2 separate regions of the Homo sapiens genome follow, and region 2 is linked to region 1. Evidence: promoter capture Hi-C in human tissues and cell types (Jung and others, 2019). All regions are on one chromosome and are shown on one strand. The core of a region is centred on a gene start or on the middle of the fragment in contact, and the rest is flanking DNA. Distances in the headings are between cores, read along the strand shown. Region 1 overlaps NCSTN (nicastrin). Region 2 holds the start of KCNJ10 (potassium inwardly rectifying channel subfamily J member 10).

The links. The method cuts DNA at HindIII sites, captures the fragments that hold promoters and counts their contacts. A contact is called where the count stands out against the background at its distance.
Region 2: the fragment with the promoter of KCNJ10 here is called in contact with a fragment that was not itself captured in region 1 in 1 of the 25 tissues and cell types used here (lymphoblastoid cells).

The regions. Positions count from the first base shown.
Region 1 is chr1:160,352,394-160,359,018 of GRCh38, reverse strand. NCSTN (nicastrin) reads right to left here. Exons shown (of 17, transcript NM_015331.3): 9 at 6,028-6,132; 10 at 5,782-5,859; 11 at 4,729-4,901; 12 at 3,262-3,364; 13 at 3,061-3,156; 14 at 2,672-2,759; 15 at 2,265-2,419; 16 at 1,766-1,978; 17 at 70-870. The coding sequence ends at 748. Among named protein-coding and RNA genes, the nearest start is that of NHLH1, 11 kb to the left of the region's middle. The HindIII fragment of the contact is 8,042 bases long and covers 1-6,625 here.
Region 2 is chr1:160,066,437-160,073,061 of GRCh38, reverse strand. KCNJ10 (potassium inwardly rectifying channel subfamily J member 10) reads left to right here and starts at 2,902. Exons shown (of 2, transcript NM_002241.5): 1 at 2,902-3,040. RefSeq lists enhancers at 814-1,173, 3,351-3,520, a silencer at 2,711-2,940 and a cis regulatory region at 3,435. The HindIII fragment of the contact is 5,259 bases long and covers 554-5,812 here.

The DNA.
Region 1 (6,625 bases), core at 2,202-4,701:
ACTTCATGACTTCCAGTCTAGGCTCGCTGAACAAGGTGGCCTGGGAAGAATAACTAGCAGTACAAGTCGTGTGGGATAATCTATTTTAATGAAACTCATTATATATATATTTACAAAAAGAATAAAGGAAAAAGACAAAAACAAAAATAGATATTACAGCTTAATAAAAAGTACAACTGAGCACTGTGGGCTGGAGGTGGGATACCCACCCGCAGCACGCCCACCCTAATGTGCCATCTGAGGGCCTGGAGAAAGGACAGTGGGAAGGAGACAGTAGGCTCAGCCCAGAGATGCCCCTGTCCTCAGGGGCTCAATGTAGTTTGACCCTGACATTAAACCTTTTATGTCCTTCCCAGTCAGGAAGGTGGCTGGGTACAGGGGTGGGGGTGAGGAGCAGAGAGAGGTACAGGGCAGGAAGGAAAAAGTAGAAGGGTCCTGAAGGGCAAATTAGGGTGGGTAACTAGGGAGTTAAACAGGAGCAAGAAGCTTCTATTTGTAATCCCAAAATCTGGCATGAGTAGAGAAGGAAGAGGAAATGGGGAAGGGGTGATGGGAAAGGGGAGCGGAGGAAGGGAGGCAATTTATTTATTTCTCCCTGTCTCTTTTGGATAGTTCCACTCTTTTATGTTAATCCCAATCTGAGACAGGCCCAGGGAGGTTCCAGTGACAAATTAGTGGTTGTGTCCCAGTGGGACAGATGCTCTAGGAAGTGAACTGCTGAGCTGGCAAGAAAAGCTGGGGTCCTCCTCAGTATGACACAGCTCCTGGCTCCCGGGGAGCAATGAAAAGGACATCAGCTTTGGCATTGATGCAGTAGGTGACGATGAGGGAGAAGATGAGGATGCCGAAGCCCACTGTCAGGGTGATCAACTGCAGGGGGAGGGAGGGCAGGAAAGGACAAAGGCATTCTCAGAACTCAGTGCAGTTTTTTGGATAACTGTTTGGGGTTTGGAGCCATGGGAATTCGGATGCTGGCTCTAAGCACCAACTATGGAATAATCATGGGCAACATCTCTCCAGCCTACAGACTTTGTCTCCCCATTTGAAAAGAGAAGTAAAGCATCTCTGTTCTTGCTTCCATCTTGTATTACTTAGATTTTAGGCATTTTGAAAGGAGGGCCCATGGCTTTGGTTCCCTTGCGGCACTTACATTACTGACTTGTGACAGGAGCTCGGTACATTAGACTGACTCATCCCAGCTGTGCCAGATGGGGAATGCCAGCCGGGAGTTGAAGCTGTGAAAGAGTTCTGGGATCCACAGGGGCTCTCCAGAATGAACACCTACTCAAACTATCTGTGAAGAAAGGCCTCCTGGCCGGGTGCAGTGGCTCACGCCTATAATCCCAGCACTTTGGGAGGCCAAGAAAGGTGGATCACCTGAGGTCAGGAGTTTAAGACTAGCCTGACCAACATGGTGAAACCCATCTCTACTAAAAATAAAAAAAAATTAGCTGGGTGTGGTGACACATGCCTGTAATCCCAGCTACTCGAAAGGCTGAGGCAGGAGAACTGCTTAAACCCAAGGGACGGAGGTTGCAGTAAGCTGAGATTGTGCCATTGCACTCCAGCTTGAGCAACAAGAATGAAACTCCATCTCAAAAAAAAGGCCTCCTAAGGGAACATGCTGGCTGACCAGGGACAGATTTGCAGTAGGCTTTTGCTACAAATGTGGGGCAAATGGGAGATGGAAAGGGCTATATGACACAAGAAAGCAGAGAAAGAAGTCAAACAGATCCCTGCCACCTATGCCCCTGCCCCATCTCACCTCAAGCTCTTTGCTGGCGATGAGAAATATCCGGGCACGGATATCTTTCCAGCGGCTCTCAGTCCATGTAGAGTATTCAGTAGAGCTCCACTGACTCAGTTCAAAGGCAGGAGACAAGGCCCTGGCTAATCGTGCAGTAGAACGCACACACCGGGGGAGTCGGTCCGTCTCATTAGAATGCAAAGGGCCCTGGACCCATGAGTACTCATACAGCTGCACAGAAGATGCGCCACAACACACGGCTAGGGTGATCCTCTTCTCACTCGTTCCCTCTACCCTCTATCAGTGCCATGCTCTAACCAATTGAGCTAACTGGCTGCTGTCCCTTTACCCTTCAGATGGTCCATTTTCACCCAGGCTTTTCAACACCCAATTGCTGAGGACTGCATCTCTCCACCTCTCCATCCCAATCCCCTGGGTCTAACTAGGTCTAGAAGAACCTCCAACTTTCCCAAGGGAAAGGGGCCCCAGGGCACTTCCAACACCCACCACCACTCACATCCTTGTTTTCACTTGGGACTTTACTTGGATCCTGGCACTGCTCTCGGGTGAGGTTGACCACTGTGCCAGTCAAATTTGCCAAGGCATACTGTACAACATAAGTGGTGTTGGTGGGGCTGGAGACAGCGATGTAATGTTGAAGAGGCCCGTCACCTGAGTGCAGACCAAAGGGAAGGGAAGATTTGGTGGGTGGATGGTGGGTGAAATAGGAAAAGCCCAAGATTGGCAGCAGCCAGAAAGAAGGGCAATGGAAAAGGATCCATCAAATATGAGAAGAAAGAAAGGAAAACAGGGGGTAAGAAAAACAGAGAGGAAAAAGAAAAAAAATAATAAAGGTTAAACCAAAAGACTTTTTCTCTATCCCTTTCCTCAGCTAAGGGTCCCATTCCCACACCAGATGCTTACCCAAGTAGGACCTTAGGTCCTGCCTGAGGATAGACTGGAACCATGAGTTGTTGGCTTTAATCAGGAACCCATAGAGCAGGCGGGTAACCTAGGATTGGAACAGTAAAGAGAGAAAACCCTGTGACTTGAAGGGAGCCCAGGGAAAGAATTATCAGTGGAGACCCAGTCATGGGGCAGGAACCAGACTGGCCAGATAGACTGGAGTTGGGAGACAGTAGCTGGCTCATAAGATGCAGATGAGGCCCACCCAAGAGCTCTCTGGGGCATGAGGCATTCTCACCGGCATCAACAGTCATGTGGAATTCCAAGGTTTGGGACACTAGGGCAAGGGAGGATAGGGACAGCTTGCTGTGTAAATAGAAAGAAGGAGCTAGGGCCCATCTGCTTACCGTTTGGGGATCAGCCTGAACTGTGTCGCTGAAGTTGGTTCCTCCTGCAAGCTCATACAGAGCACGTCCCAGCACCGTGGCCACATCTGCCAGGGCCTGTGGTAGGTGAGGAGGGGGCTGAATGGCCCACCTCTCCTATCCTCAAATGCTAGCATCTTCACTGTGTGCCCCAGGCTCCCACCCAGCCTGGCTCAGTGCTACCTTGGCAGTGTCTGTTACAAAGTTCAGGTCCTCTTCAGGGCTCAGCCATTCGGGATAGCTCACATTAATGTTCTCAGCAGTGTCGTAAATACTCTGGTAATATCTGCCAGGAAAGCCGGCATGAGCCTTGGCTACATTTAGCCAGGGCTCTGCCCCTTTCCTCCCTCAAATGCTCCTTATGCAGGGACTCAGTATCTCATTTTCAGCATCAGAAGAAAGGGGTGAGAGACAATCAGGATCCCATATTGCAGAAGGTGTGGAGAACAGGGAGGTAGGAGTGAGGGTGAGGTGGTTAGTGAAAATTAAAGACTTTCCTGACAGACAAGGTAGAAAAGCTGAATGAGCTCAGATCTTTAAACAAAGGAGAGACTCTTCTACATCATTTGGGCTGGAGATATGGGGGATGGCTAAGATGATTTTCAGAGAACTCTGCCATGTATCATGAGATCAGTTGTATAACTGTTCCAATGAACATTTATATTTAGGGTAGCTGGGAGCAGGAGGTGATTAGCAGGTCTTAGGATCAGGTCTGCTCACTGATATATAAGAATACACTGATAAAATCACCATGATGATCCTTATGGAGCCCCAAGGAGATAGATCTTAAAAGAGAGGCTGAGCTCCACAGTCTTTACCATCAGTAAATCCCTGTCCCACACAAAGTCAAGTCAGCTACATAATCAAATCCAAAATGTGTTCAAATGATGAATCTTCACTTGCCCCAAAGTGGTACAAGGATAGCTTTAGAGAAGACAGCTGACCCTAAGTGCTAGGACGGTCACTCCCCTAAATGAATGAGAAGGTGCTACTTGGCTGGGGTCAGAAATAGAGCTCAAGCATTTTCACTACGAAACTCATTTGGCCCTCGGGAAGCTTGGCAATCCAGCCTGAGTAAGAAGTCCCCTGTTATCCAAGGCCTCAAGTTAGGAGCAGTTAAAGGGTAACCCAGAGTTACCCTTTGTATCTCTGGAGCCCCATCAGCTATAGGAGGCACTTTTACCCTCGCACTGAACCATGGCCATCTACCACATGGCAAGAACATGGTACATTTCACAGAGTATGAATACTGTTTCTGGCACCTCTGGGTGAGTTCCAGAGAAGGACTGCTTTCTGTCTTCTAGCCAAAGGGCCCCCACCATCCTTCCCATGCTTGTGTTTGAGATGATGCCCTCTGCTGGCAACCCTGAGGAACTCAGGACCCTGGAGAGCTAGGGAGCAGTGGAACCATAACCAAGGATTGTTGACAGTAAAGGGCTAAGGGTGAGGATGAGTTTCTAAGATGAATATCCAGTCAAACAAATAAGGGTTTCAGTTCAGATGTGAAAACGCCACTGAGCAAAGAATACAGATGGACCTGAAGTTCTGGAGGGGGTAGTGTGGGAAAGCGGAGGGCAGTGACCTTCCTCCCAGACTGCAGAATAGACTCTCTTCAAGAATGAAGAGGGTGCAGGGCCAAGTGATTCTTACTTGTTATGGAAGGCACCAGAGTGGTCAGCCAGAACAACGCCAGAGATGTTTCGAGCTCGAAGAAATCGCTGCAGGGAAGATGGTGGGAGAGGCTGGGACTGATTTGGCCTCCTGAGGATGACAGCAGGGACACCAGCACCACTCTTCTCCAATGTGGCCAGGAGATCCTCCACCTGGGGGGTACGAGGGAGATTAACTGATGGGAGGCTGGGGGATGGGAAGCAGGAGGTCTCTTTTAGGCCTGAAATGCTCTATACTTCAAGTTCCCTGCTTGGGGAGCTACCCTATCTCTAGTAGACCTTTATCCCTCAAGCCTTTTGGGACCAAGGCTCTCTGAATTTCCTGTAGCTTCCACCATTCTTTTTAGAGTTAGAAAATTGGGGCATAAAGAAGAGACCTTTTTTTTCATATTTATAAGTAAATTCTACTGTCTTCAAGACTCTGCTTTATCCTCAGTGGATGCTTCACTTATTATTTATTGTGCAGAATTGAAGGGAGCAAATAATAATAGAAAACTGCGTGCTGAATGCCAAACAGATAACCAATTCTTTAAATGCTACAGGAGTCCAGAGCAGGGATGATGCTGAAGGCTGGAATTGCAGAAAGAGGACCACCTGGAAAAAAGCAGGCCTAAAGGTGGACCTAGAGGGAAGGGAAGGTTTTGAACAAGCAATGAGGAAAGTGGAGGACAAGTTGGGCAGCGAGTGTGACACAGCCAGGACTTGGGTAGAGCAGCCTTGACAATTGGATCCATGGGGCAGCAAGGCAAGAAGGGAGCTAGTCACTCACCTATCCTTAATGGGCAGTGGTAGTCTGCTAGGCAACAAATGATCAGAGAACTACCCAGTCCAGGGAACCAATGGAATGTCACTGAGTTCCTGATTCTTCCCAGCAGCAACAACAGCTGTGGTGTTCATCCTTTGGCCAACACCCAATCCAATCCTGTCTCTTACCCTGTCTCACAGGCCCTGGGGGTTGGTGGAAACAGGGCAGGGGTTGGGGTCTGGATTCTGAGCTGTAGGAATAGGAAATGAGGGGAGATGCTCAGGTTACCTGGTTCCGTACAGACTCATTTTTCTGAGAAACAGGATCTGTGTGCATCCAAAGCTCTAATGAAGTTCTTAAGGCCACCTGGGGGGAGGATGAAGAAACAACACTTAGAATCAGTCTCCTGTTCTGGGCCATGCCTAGGGGATAGAAGTCAAGGGAAGAGGCGGTGGTTCCTGCAGTTAAGACCGCAGAACAACAAAGGAGGAAGATTTAATTAAAAAGGAAGGGGCTGGGGGACATGCCACATACCTGTCCCAGCTCCACAAATGAGTCAACATTCTCTAACTGCACGGGAAACTTGCCCTTCTCCATATCGTAGACCATCCTCGAGCTGCCAATGTAGTCAAAAGTTTCCTGAGAGATGGAGGTAGGTGGGAGGGGGAACAGAGATTCCAAAGGGTTAGGAGAGCCTCGAAGGCGGCCAGATCATCAAAGCTGTAGGTAAGACGACTATCTCAGGTCACCTCAACTGCTAGTCAGCTTACAGTCATGTGACTTTCGGCTTCTCTTGGCCCCACCTCCCAGCTGTGACTATCCCTCATATGTATTACAAGACTTCTGAAGCCCAGAAATGGGGAAAGTAGCCTTAGTAAAGGTCTAAGATGAACATCAGCTATTATGTGTCTGATTCTTAACGGTCCCCCACCTCCAGTGACTCAGCCACAGATGCTGTTCCCTTATTCTGCTGTGGTCCTAGTGATGAGAGTCAGGAGCCTAACGGCTCCTGGATGGAGATAGCAGTAAAGGAGTCCAGAGAATAAAAGTAAAAGGCCGCCTCCAATATATCTTATCAGTGGGGGAAAGAGGGGGCTGGTTACATACCAATTCAGGGTGTAAAAGCTTCCTA
Region 2 (6,625 bases), core at 1,653-4,152, 290 kb after region 1:
TGTTAGTGTTAGTGTATTTTATGTGTGGCCCAAGACAATTCTTCTTCTTCCAATGTGGCCCAGGGAAACCAAAAAATTGGACACCCCTGCCTAAGTCCTCTCTGTCTGTGAATGTCAAGACTGTGGCCCCCTTAAGGATCTTTTGGATGTCCTATTTTTTGAAACTTAAAGGTCTTATACCAGTCTTGCAGGCTGGCCCTCAGACCACCTCACCACAGCCCCTCATCCATATTGACTTAGGAAGAGAGGGCATTCGGAGTGTGAAGAAGAAAAACTGGAAGACTGTTTCTTTTTCTTTTTATTTTGTGTTTTGTTTTGTTTTGTTTTTGGAGACAGAGTCTAGCTCTGTCCCCCAGGCTGGAGTGCAGTGGCGTGATCTCGGCTCACTGCAACCTCTGCCTCCCAGGTTCAAGCGATTCACATGCCTCAGTCTCCCAAGTAGCTGGGATTACAGGCGCGTGCCACCAGGCCCGGCTAATTTTTGTATTTTTAGTAGAGATGGGTTTTTGCCATGTTGGCCAGGCTGGTCTCAAACTCCTGACCTCAGGTGATCCACCCACCTTGGCCTCCCAAAGTGCTGGGATTACAGGCATGAGCCACCTGGCCTGGCCTGTTTCTAGTACATTGTCTGGTTTCTATTTCTCTCCTCTCTATGAGTAGAGTTCTCAAAAGTGTAACCTATACTTGCTGACAGTTTCTCACTTTCTAGTGGTAACTTGTAATCTGGTTCCCACCTTGCTCACTCTTCTGAAATTGCTCTCAAATGTCACTAGAGACTTTGTCACTGCCAAACCCAATGCCTCTTCTCTCTGTACTTGTTGGCACTGTTAGAACCTCCTCCTTAACAGTCTCTCCTTCCTTAGCTCCATGACATCTCACTTTCTTTGTCTCCTTCCTGCCTGTCTGGTGGATTCTCTTTCACTCTTTGGGGGTCCTTCTTCTTCCCATCCCCTAAACATAGGTGTTCCTCACTCTCTGTGCCAGGCTCTCATTTCTCTGTGCAGTCTTTGTTGGGATCTACCCTGTTCTCATAGCTTCAACTCACACTGCCCTGGCAGCAATGACCTCCTTTCTCTCTCTGGTTCTGACCCCTCTCCACAGCTTCCAGCTCTGAACTCATCACTTCCTCTTCCCCCACCTCAGTCTCCTCACCAGGTGTGATCCCCCCCAGGCTCCCCTATGCCCGTGAATGACCTCGCAGTTCTGATCACCTGACTTGAGACTCTAGTATGATCTCTGAAGCTTCCCTCTTTTGCTCAACATGTCAAGTTGGCTTCAAACTTTTTTCATTTTCTTTTGATTTTTCTGTACTCCAATTCATTTTCTGTGTTCCACTTTTCACCATTGCCACGCTGATTTGGGCTGTCATCTCTTCATGCTTATATTATTGCAATTATTTTCTATCGTCTACTTGCCTACTATATCCACTTGGTTCAAACTATTTTGTCACCTCCCGATTAATTTTCCTAAAATGCCATAGCTTTCTCCTACTCCATCCTTCCCAAGAACCTTCAATTGCTCTCCGTAGCCTACAGAAACTCTGGCCTGACCACAAATCAGCACAACTCTGTGTTTCTTCCGGATGTTCCCCTTAACACAAACACTGCCTATGGTGCCTAACCTTTAGTCCCGTCCTTCCAGCTTCTCCAATGAGGCTATTTGAATGGACATTTACTTATCTTATGGCTTTTAGTGGTTAAACTAAGCTACATTCCTAGTTTCTTTCCTTTTTTTACCTGAATTTATAGCAATTCAATATGGTAACACTGGTTATTGATTAGCAGTTAAATGTTTATGATGATCAGAAATGAGGAAATAATTATATTCTTTTTAAATAAATGCTGGGGGTGGGGGTGAATTAAAACCTCTCAACACATAGATTCAGAAAATTAAAGAAATCTTTGGTGATGAAAGGGTTGAGAACCATCACCCTGCACTCTAATCTAGTAAATGGGACAGTTTGATGCTGTTTCCCAAGTGAACTTGTATTTTCACGTCTCCCCAGGACTCTGCTACGTTGTTCCCTCTGCCTTAAATGCAACAGAGTCCTGGGGACCATCTCTCAGCACCTGAATCTTCTGCTTCCTTTGGGACCCTAATCAGATGTTACCTCTTTCCTCCCACATCTGCTAGGAGCCCTCTGAGTAGAATGACCTCTCCCTTTTACAGCCTTCAGTACCTCCCGCACTTCGCTGAGGGTTCCGGCCTTATCTTTCCTTACAGAGAAAGCCGCTGCAGGTGGGCACCGTGTGCTGCGCGTCTCTCACCCAGCACCGCACCGGGGACTTAGGAGACGGTGAACAACACGGGAATTGTGCCCAAAGATACAGTCCTGTGGCTCAGGGAGCCCAGGCCTACTCCGCCCCAATCTCACTTCCAGGCGCCGCCTTCGGCGCTGCCTGCAGGGCCACTGGGCCGGTCCTGAATTCATTTCCACTTCGTTAACTCGGTCCCAGTCCCGCCCCCCGGCTCCAGCTCTCGTAACCCATCGCTGACAGGACCGCCTCCCTTTTCTTCCTTCTCCCTTCCCCTGTCACCCTGCCAGCTCAGCTCCTATCGTTTCGCATATCGTCTCTTCATCTCTCTTTCTCCCCGGGTCTGTCTGGGTCTCTGTCTTTGGATATTTCTCTCTGCGCCTGCAGCTGTCTGGGTCTCCGCTTCCTTGCCCCGCACGCCCCGCCCCCTGCCCAAGACCCTCCAATCTCGGCGGCTCGAGCCTGGCGCTCCACTCTCCCATTGGTCTGTTCGGAGCCCCCCGCCCCCGCCTGCCCGGCCCCCCTCCGGGCCCCTCCATTCACACAAAGTTTGGCTCCGGCGCTGCGGAGGGAGGGGGCGGCCCGGCCCGGCCCAGCTCTGCCCCCGGCCGGCCCGACCCCGGCCCCGGCCCCCGGACAAGCCCTTATCTGATCCCAGCTCCGGGTTTAAGAGTCCTGGCCCGGCCCGTCGCACAGCTCTGCTCCTAACTCCTGCCCGCCCCGTCCGTCCATCTGTCCCGCTGCCCCGCGGCCCATCCAAGGGGCCACTCCACCTCGGACCCAAGGTAAGACCCTGGCCCTGATGAAGGAGTTCTGCCGCCCCGGCCGGGTCCTGTCCCCCTAACTCTCCAGAGACATCGGGGTCCCAGATCCTCAGTCCCTACCCTGCCTGGCCTCAGCGGTACCACCGTCTTGTTCCCCTGCCTCCCGCCTTGGGCAGTCCCAAATGGAGCCTCCTGGGAAGGGCTCCCCACGAGGAAACTAGCCAGGCTGGTCACCTCAGCCCTTTCATCTAAGGAAGGGGCTTTCCCGATGCCCCCTCCCACTGGGCAGACCAGCAGTTGCATCCCTGCTCCTCTAGTTAATACAGTGACAACCACACATAACCAGGCACCCCATACACAGGCACAACAGACAGTGCGCCCTCCTCCCCATATGGACAGGTTACTCCCATCCCCAGCCCCTCCCCCACTCCCCATACAGTGACAATCACATAGTGACACCCATGATCGCTAGTTCCCACATGGGGAGAAAAACAGATACTGGCAGCTTAAACCGGGGAGCCACCAAAGCCTGGTGTGCTCCAGACCCCTGCCCACCCAATCTCTTCCTTCTATTCTGAGTGGCTCCCATTTTAAGACATCCCTCCTCATGGCCCCTCACCCTCACCCCAGCTGTTTCGCACTGGGATTTCCAGAAGGAAAGGAGCAGGGCCACTTCTGCTAGAGTGAGAAGGGCAGATTGGGTTCTATAAACTCACCCTCCAGATGGAGACGCCCCTTCCCATTCCATTCCTCCTCTCATCAGAACTAACCCAGGGCACCTGTGTTAGGGAACAGATGAAGGATGGAACTTCCTGATTTGGGGGAGGAGAGCTGAACCCAGGAATGGGTAGAAGGACAACACTGGGAAAAAGTGAGGGTGGGTTCTGGTGTCTTGAAGTTTAATTCCAGTGAGTGCCCCAGGCAGGGTGAGGCAGATGGGGAAGAAGCTGGTGCAGATTTGGACCCCAAAGAGGCCAGTGCTTAAAGCCTGCTTCTGTTGCTTACCAATACAAATTCTGACTAAAGATGTCTGGCCAGTCTGCTCTTGCTGTGGTGTTTGAATTTTTTTTCTCCCCACTGGGACTGCTTTAGGCTGCCTGGGTGGGAGGGAGATAATGACAGGAGATTTAGGGCCCCCATGTGAGAGATGGCCTTGTTTAAGGGTGCTGAGGAGGGCCTGGAGTGGTTGTCATGAAATTAGCCCCAGGAGGGGTGGGCAGCCACCAGTGAGTTCAATTTAGTTTCATCCTGAAACTCTCTCCCTAATCTCCAAGGATTTTTGAACATATTCCTGGCATGATGGTGGGTACCATCCTGTGCCAAGTGGTAGGGCTTGTAAATTTCTCTGGGGGTAGACTGGGTATAGGGGACCAAGTTTGGAAGGAACCAGGCATCCTGACTCATAGCTGGTTCTTCAGGGAGGAAGAAACGAGGGAGGAGGGGGATGGAAGGCATCATGCCAGGGAGAGGGTCCAGGGCTGGATTGTGGAGGCAATAGGCACGGCCCAGGCAGTGCCAACTCCTTTCCCCGCTGCCTTCCCCCAGTCCTTTGGTGGTGGTGGCAAGGGAGGAAGGGAGGGAGAGGGTGTTGGGGGGTGATCTGGGCTGGTCCAGCCTCCCAAAGCCCTTGCCAACCTGGGTCCTGAAAGGAGCTGCTGTTTTCTGAGCCATCCCCCCACCCCCCACTCAGAGCCTGAGCAGCCAAGTTGTCTCAGCGGATATCAAATGGCAATGACTCCACCGATGGAGGGTGGGTGGGGAGTGGGAGTGGCAGGGGTAGCAGGGTTATGGTTCCAGCCCCTCTGTGGCTCTAATGCAGAACCCCTCTGCTATCCCTTACCCTGAGGAAAAAATAAATCCATCTTCCCCAACATCTGACCCACATCCAGTCTATGGGTGCATATGTTTGTGTGAGGGGATTAATGATCTGCCCGCTGGTATCCCCTACCTCCTCCGTGTGCCCCATTGAACCACATTCTAGCTCCCTCCCACCTGCATCACTGTGCATAAGCTCATTTACAGCTCCAGCTTGGTTGGCTTGAGCTACAAGGAAGTGACTGGCAGAGGACCCGGGGACCTTCCTTCCCTTGACCTTCCTTGGGACCAGAGAGGCTGGGACACTTGGATCACGGTGGGCTCAGATGAAGTCCTCTGGAGTCATTCTGTGATTGGCAGGATAGGGGGTTTAAAGCTCTAGGGGGTGGGTCATGCAGAAAGATCTGTTTCCTCAAAGGATACTCCTGAGCCTCCTGGTAAAACTCTTGGTTTCTGCACACAAGATGGAAAGATAGGCCGAGCCTCCTGGCATTGGTGGGGAGGAAAAGAGACATTGGGCAATGGAGTCCCTAAGCTTTCCAGCCACAGGTTATTTAGGACGGAAGAAAAAAACCTCCACTCTCCCTCCCCTCCTCGGCCTAGATTCTTCTCTTGCCTGACTGGTCAGTGCTACTGTCCAGGCTGAGGCCAAGCTGTCCAGGATAGCAGTGGGGCCCTGGAAGGGGGCAGAGAAGGAATCAGCCAAGGCACATCGTTGAGATGAAACTACAGAAAGATTGGAGAGGAAAGGGAGATTTAAAATCTAAGTGTTTTAGCACCCAATGGTGGGTGGTTGGCTGGGCAGCTCCTGGGAATGGGAGTTTGCCATGTCACTTCGGTCTCTCCAGCAGGCTGAGTTCAATGCTTTTCTTCCCTCATTTGAGTTTAGCCTACATGTTTGCCACCATTCTTTAGGGAGAGAGTGCATCTGGTGGCCCCTCTTCCTCCCCTCCCCCATCAGAACCTTGAAAGGGCAAAGAGAAAGGGATTGTGGGAAATGCCCTCCCGTGGGTGTTTGCCAGCTTGGAGCCTGGATTTGAGGTGGTGGGGGAAGGGAGGGGCTGGCTCTGGAATGTGAGAGAGAAGTAAGAACAGAACTTTGTGGCATGGAGAAGGAGGTTGGAGAAGCAGGAGCTAGAAGAGGACTGAATCAGACCTCAAGCCTCCAACAAGGTGCAGCACAGAAAGGGTATACATGGCCATTGTGCAACTTTTCCGATGGCACAACACCTGGGGAAAGGATTGTGGCTGCAGCTAGAAGGACTTAGGTTAGATCTCAGGAAGCACATCCTAGAAAAGGAAAGACATTTGAAATGGAGACTGGGAAGGAAAGAGAGACCACTTTCTGGACCAAAAAAACCAACCAAAACAAAACAAAAACCACCAACAAAATCCCCAAACACAGAAGCCCATCCTTAAAGCTTCCGAGAGGAGTGATGGAGCTCAGAGTGCAGGGATTATTGTGACAACTGTCAGGGGCCTCCCCTGGGTGGCTGCTGCACCTCTCTCTTGCTGTTCCAGGGCTACTTTCCGCTCTGAGAGACAGCAGGCACTATGGTTAAGAGCATGGCCTTGGAGTCTGACTTTGTGGGATTCGGTCCTGGTTTACCACTTAGTAGCTAAGGAAGTCCCATCCTCACAATAGGGCTCATAACTGCTGTGAGGATGCACAGTGACTACCGTAAGGGGCTTGGAATGGTCCTTAGTCTGTAAAAAGTGGAGTTGTGGGCCATTGCTTTTCTCCCACCACTCTAATGTTTTCTACTGTGTCATCTTTCCTTGTTCCTGGGC